Regions from separate parts of the Homo sapiens genome. Here region 1 is linked to region 2. The links are contacts of gene promoters, found by promoter capture Hi-C in human tissues and cell types (Jung and others, 2019). All regions are on one chromosome and are shown on one strand. Each heading gives the region's core, a stretch centred on a gene start or on the middle of the fragment in contact. The rest is flanking DNA. Distances are from core to core; before and after follow the strand shown. Region 1 has its middle 33 kb from the start of LINC01144. Region 2 holds the start of HPDL (4-hydroxyphenylpyruvate dioxygenase like).

What was found. The method cuts DNA at HindIII sites, captures the fragments that hold promoters and counts their contacts. A contact is called where the count stands out against the background at its distance.
Region 1: a contact is called between a fragment that was not itself captured here and the fragment with the promoter of HPDL in region 2, in 1 of the 25 tissues and cell types used here (aorta).

The regions. Positions count from the first base shown.
Region 1 is chr1:45,269,672-45,272,966 of GRCh38, reverse strand. No RefSeq gene overlaps it. Among named protein-coding and RNA genes, the nearest start is that of LINC01144, 33 kb to the left of the region's middle. The HindIII fragment of the contact is 5,266 bases long and covers 1-3,295 here.
Region 2 is chr1:45,325,522-45,328,662 of GRCh38, reverse strand. HPDL (4-hydroxyphenylpyruvate dioxygenase like) reads right to left here and starts at 1,768. Exons shown (of 1, transcript NM_032756.4): 1 at 1-1,768. The coding sequence starts at 1,514. The coding sequence ends at 399. RefSeq lists enhancers at 557-666, 1,427-1,676, 1,687-1,736. The HindIII fragment of the contact is 17,678 bases long and covers 1-3,141 here.

The DNA.
Region 1 (3,295 bases), core at 442-2,941, 56 kb after region 2:
CATAAGATATAACTTGGTATGGTGGCTCTCGCTAAGAATTAGCTAGATTCTGTGGGAGGCCTCAATTCCTCTCTAGTTGATACCTGGAGAGGAATTGAGGCCTCCCACAAACAGCCAGCAACCACTTGCTAGTGATGGGAGAAAGCTACCTTGAAAGTGGATTCTCCAGCCCCAGTCAAGCTTTCAGATAGCTGCAGTTCTGGTTGACATCTGAACTGTAACCTCACAAGGGATTCTCAGCCAGAACCACCACACCAAGTTATATCCTGTGAGAGATAATAAATGATTGTTGTTGTCTTAAGTCTCTAAGTTCTGGGATAATTTGTTATGTAGCAATGGATAACTAACCATAAAATATTTTGCAATTAATACTGAATGAACAAATCAGCATATTCATGAACAATTTTTTGTTTTCTTTTGGTTGGCATTACCTTCATGCATTTTGTGTTGTTATCCCAGAATACCACAGACTGGGTTATTTTATTTTATTTTATTTTATTTTATTTTATTTTATTTTATTTATTTTATTTTATTTTATTTTATTTGAGACAGAGTCTCACTCTGTTGCCCAGGCTGGAATACAGTGGCATGATCACAGCTCACTGCAGCCTCAACCTCCTGGGCTCAAGTGATCCTCCCACCTGAGCCTCCCGAGTAGCTGGATCCACAGGTGCATGCCACCATACCTGGCTGATTTTTGTATTTTTTGTAGAGATGGAATTTTGCCATGTTGCCCAGGCTGGTCTTAAACTCTTGGGTTCAAGCAATCTGCCAGCCTCAGCCTCCCAAAGTGCTGGGATTACAGGTGTGAGATACCATGCCCAGCCCAGACTGGGTAATTTTAAAAGAACAGAAATTTATTTCTTAAAGTTCTGGAGGCTGTGAAGTCCAACATTGAGGGTCTGCCTCTGGTGAGGGCCTTTTTGCTGCATCATCTCATGGTGAAAAGTGGAAAGGCAAGAGAGGGCGTGTGAGAGCAAGAGAACAAGAAGTGGCCAAACTCGCTTTTATAGCAACCCACTATCATGATAACTAACCTACTCCTGTGATAATGACATTAATCCATTGACGACAGCAGAGCTCTCAGAAACTAATCACCTCTTATCAGGCCCCACTTCCCAAGACTGTTGCCTTAAATTTTTTTTTTTGAGACAGAGTTTCACTCTTGTTGCCCAGGCTGGAGTGCAGTGGCACGATCTCAGCTCACTGCAAACTCTGCCTCCTGGGTTCAAGCAATTCTCCTGTCTCAGCCTCCCAATTAGCGGGGATTACAGGTGTATGCCACCATTCCTGGCTAATTTTTGAATTTTTAGTGGAGACAGGGTTTCATCATATTGGTCAGGCCGATTTCAAACTCCTGACCTCAGGTGATCCTCCCGCCTTGGCCTCCCAAAGTGCTGGGATTACAAGCATGAGCCACCGTGCCTGGCCTTAAAGATTAATTTTATAACACATGAACTTTGGGGGACACATTGAAACCATAGCAGGAATAAATCAGGAATTACATTAGTAATAATTCCAACAGGTGCCTGAAATTTTCTTTTACATTTTCTCTGTACTTTATGGACTTTCTCAACCATACAAATTGGAGTAAAAACACAAACAAGATAGCACAAATATCTAATCCTAGAAAGACTGTGTTGGTTGAGTGATTTCAATATGAGGAAAGATTAATTATACATGTACTTCCACTATCCACCGCCAAAGATTAGTTGGCATACAAGGCACAACGCTTATGGATCATGAAATCATGATGAAATTTTGGTCAAGAAAGGTTTTTTTTTTTTAAAAAAAAATCTTAAATGTAGATTTTTACCCAATCTTTAAGGCAGTAGTTGATTTACATTTTATTACATGCTTTAACCAAAAGTTTGTACTTTTTGGGTTAAAAAAGCCAAATATTTAAGGGTAATCAACCACTGCAACTGCTTTGTCTTTGTCTCTGTCAACAGTACCCTCTGAATCCTTTCAGTTTCATAGAGGATAAAGAGAATTTTCACAAGGAATCTTAATGTATTAGTCTGTTTTTATGCTGCTGATAAAGACATAAGGCTGAGAGGAAAAAGAGGTTTAATCGGACTTATAGTTCCACATGGCTGGGGAGGCCTCAGAATCATGGTGGGAGGTGAAAGGCACTTCTTTACACAGTGGCAGCAAGAGAAAATGAGGAAGAAGCAAAAGTGGAAACCCCGGTTAAACCCATCAGATCTTGTGAGACTTATTCACTATCATGAGAATGGCATGGAAAAGGCCAACCCCTGTGATTCAATTACCTCCCCTGGGTCCCTCCCCCAACACGGGGAATTCTGGGAGATACAATTCAAGTTGAAATTTGGGTGCGGACACAGCAAAACCTTATCATTCCAACCCTGGCCCCTCCAAATTTCACGTCTTCATGTTACAAAACCAATCATGCCTTCCCAACAATCCCCCAAAGTCTTAACTCATTTCAGCATTAACCTAAAAGTTCACAGTCCAAAGTCTCATCCGAGACAAGGCAAGTCCTTCCACCTATGAGCCTGTAAAATCAAAAGCAAACTAGTTACTTCCTAGATACAATGGGGGTACAGGTATTAGGTAAATACAGCTGTTCCAAATGGGAGAACTTGGCCAAAACAAAGGGGTTACAGGGCCCATGCAAGTCCAAAATCCAGCAGGGCAGTCAAATCTTAAAGCTCCAAAATGATCTCCTTTGACTCCATGTCCACATCCAAGTCACACTGATGCAAGAGGTGTGTTCCCATGGTCTTGGGCAGCTCTGCCCCTGTGGCTTTGCAGGGTACAGCCTCTCTCCCAAGCTGCTTTCATGGGCTGGCATTGAGTGTCTGCGGTTTTTCCAGATGCACAGTGAAAGCTACCAGTGGATCTACCATTCTGGGGTCTGGAGGATGGTGGCCCTCTTCTCACAGCTCCACTAGGCAGTGCCCCCAGTAGGGACTCTGTGTGGGGGCTCCAACCCCACATTTCCCTTCTGCACTGCCCTAGCAGAGTCTCTCCATGAGGGTCCCGCCCCTGCAGCAAATGTTTGTCTGGGCATCCAAGTGTTTCCATACATCTTCTGAAATCTAGGTGGAGGTTCCCAAACCTCAGTTCTTAACTTCCATGCACCCGCAGGCTCAACACCACGTGGAAGCTGCCAAGGCTTGGGGATTTCACCCTCTGAAGCCACAGCTGAAGCCATACATTGGCCCCTTTCAGCCATGGCTGGAGTGGCTGGGACATAGGCACCAAGTCCCTAGACTGCACACAGCACTAGGATCCTGGGCCTGGTCCTTGAAACCACTTTTTCCTCCTG
Region 2 (3,141 bases), core at 519-3,018:
ATGTTACATACGGAGTGAAACAATACAGAAAAGCAAAGGGCTAATAATGACAGGATTTGAGGAGTGGGTGGGAGGAAATAGAATCACAGCGGGACACAGGGAGGACTCGAAAGTATTGGTTATGTTCTATTTCCTAGTGTGTAATTCTTTTATTGTTCTTTGTATCTTACATATTTATTATAGACTGTATATAAGAAATGTTTTAGTTTTAAAAAATCCCACCTCTTTGGAGCCCAATGAGAGACACAGCTTCTGGCAGGCACTGATGAAATGGAAGTCACACCTGCCCCCCGGAGGCAAAGCCTTTCACTAGTTGGGCCTCCTGCAGATGTTCCTCAGTTCTGTGCTGGTCTCCCCAGAGCTGCAGGACAGCTGGCTGCACCCAGCCCTGGGCATCCTTAGGCTTCCTGGCTCCTGGCAGATTGCTCCTGTACGGACTGCCACAGAGCTCTGATGTTGCCCTGACCAAAGCCAGTGGCCCCCTGCCTCTGAATCAGCTCCAGGAAGAAAGTGTCCTCAGTAAAAAGGGACTTGGTGAAGACCTGAAGCAGAAACTTGCCTTTATCACCATCTAGCAGGATCCCCTGTCGAGCAAGCAGATGAGGCTCGTGCCCTGCAGCTCGGATCTGCCTCTCCTTTCCTGGCTGCTGGTAGTATGCCCCAGGGGGAGCCAGGAACTGGCCTCCAGCAGTTGCCACCCCCTCAGTGGCCTCCACAATGTTAGGCGTATACAGCCCCACGTGCTGCAGGCCTGGCCCCTTGTGCCGGGCCAGGAACTGCTCCACCTGGTCCTGTCGTGTCGTCGCCCCCGGAAGGGACTCAGCCAGAACAAGAGTGGGGACAATGCTGCCCGGCTGGGCCTGCAGGGCTGTAAGCCTCAGTCCCCCAAGCCCAAACCCTGCTGTCATTTCGAGGCCCAGCTCGGGATCCTCACCTGGGCTCAGCGGCAAGTGGCAAAAGCCCAGGCAGTCGTGGAACCAGCGCAAAAGTGTGGGGGAGCTGCCGGGGGTGCAGGCCAAGGTCAGGTGGTCCACGCGGCTGACCCACCCGGGGCCAGGCGCAGAGGACACGGGCCTGAAGCCGGGTAGGAAGGGTCCGCGGTAGCCAGCGCGCTCCAGCAAGGTCAGGCTGAGGATGCCGGCAGGCGAGCTGACCACGGCGTAAGTGGCGGCACCCTGCGCGTCCCGCACGCGAACGGGAGGGACAGGCACGCTGCAGCCCAGCGCTGCCAGCTCCCGGGTTGCAGCGCCGGCGTCCGCCACGTCGAAGCACAGGTTTGTGGCGCTGGGCACGGCGTGACGCGGATCCAGGCCGTACAGCGGCTCTCCAGACCCTGCGCCCTCGTTCACCAAAAAGACCGCGTCGCCGCTGCGCAGGGCTAGCTGCCGCCAGCCGTCCACCTCCCGCGAAGCCAGGGGCTGGAAGCCGAAGAGGCGCTGCAGGTTCCGGGCTAGGGGCTGCCCGGCGGGCACGTGGAAGGCGATGTGGCACAAACGAAGGGCGGGCGCGGCCATGGCGCTCTGGACGGCGACCTAGACTTGTCCTTCTGGGGCCGCTTACTTGTGGTTGGGGACTTCGGGGCTCTCAGTCCTGGGCTGATCGTCCGGAGTTGGGGAGTCCGGCTCACCCCGCAGAGCGCGTTCCTCGCTTTCTTCCGGAAAGAAGTCACCCGCCGACCCCTGAGAGCTCGCGGTTCTCCCTGCAGCGCCACCCCAGCCAGGAGCAGCGTCTGGACCACCGGGTCTCAGTGAGCCGAGCTGCTGGTTGTGAGAACCACGCGGTGCCTGTGCTCGCGCCAAGCAGGAGAAAGAGGGCGGAGCCCGTGACTCCGCCTTTGACTCCCCACCCCCTCCCCCACACCCTGTCGCCTCGGATACTGCGGGGTCGCCGCGCTGCTCTTTCCCCGGGCCTCACGCCTGGTCACATCCTTGGGCACTGAGCCTCCCTTCCCCAGCCCAGGAACTCACAATGGCTGCCTTCACTCGGCGCCAGGCACTGGGCTCCCACTCATCCCCCCAACCTCACAGCGAAGGGACTCAGCCCGGGTTCAGGGAAAGAGTTGGAATTCTCTCTCCACAAGCACGGAATTTTTTAGCACTTTCATGTTTTTTCTTTAAGTTCTGGAGTTTGCCTCTAAGTCTTAATGTTCCCTGGAATACACACACACACACACACACACACACACACACGTTTATATGTTTTGAGACAGGGTCTCACTCTGTCACCCAGGCTGGAGTGGCACAATCACAGCTCACTGCAGCCTCCACCTCCTGGGTTCAGGCGATTTTCCTTGCCTCAGTGCACAAATAGCTGGGACCACAGGCGGACGCCACCACACCCAGCTAATTAAAAATAATTTTTTTTTTTAGAAATGGGGTCTTGCTATATTGCCCAAGCTGGTTTTAAACCCCTGGGCTCAAGCCATCTTTCCACCTCAGCCTCCCAAAGTGTTGGGCAATCTCTCAACCAGTCCTGTCTCTTTCTTCAATCACCCTTCTGTCAACATCATTTAACCCCTTGTCCCAAGCAAGATTTGGAGGAAAAATCTGACGGTTCGGGATCTGAAAGGAACAGCTGCCTGGCTGTCATTCCCCTTCCCCATCCTTTGAGGACTGGAACACAGGCCCTCCTTGCTCTTTGCAGCTTCCTGACTTGGCATTGAGCCAGAGATTTCTGTGGTGGGGGCACTTCTGGCTCTGAAACCCAGAATTGTGTGAGATGACTGGATTGAGGAATTTGTAGTCTTCTGGAACTTCAACTGAGTGGCCCTTGAAGGGTTAGGGAAGGGCATCCAAGAAGGGCAAAGGGCATAAGCAAAAACTCAGTAAGAGTGTGAGCCAGACTCTTAGAGGAGCAATGGGCCATGCTGTTAGGGAGGCATTTAGGATGAATGCCACAGTCCAAGGCATCACAAGAAATTTTTTTGTCAGGCAGCCTGATCTACTGGGTTTCATTGGCAAGAGGGAGAAGGATGTCATAGGGGACAGGGGCTAGCTGGATGTCATGGTGTTCAGGCCTGCAGGCAGGAGGGCAGTACCCAGGAGCTGGTCAGGGTGGTAAAAGGTACTTGGTGCTACTCTGCAGACCAGTGAATGTGAGGACATGAGTTCCAAAAGCCAGACGGACCTGGGTTTGAATCAC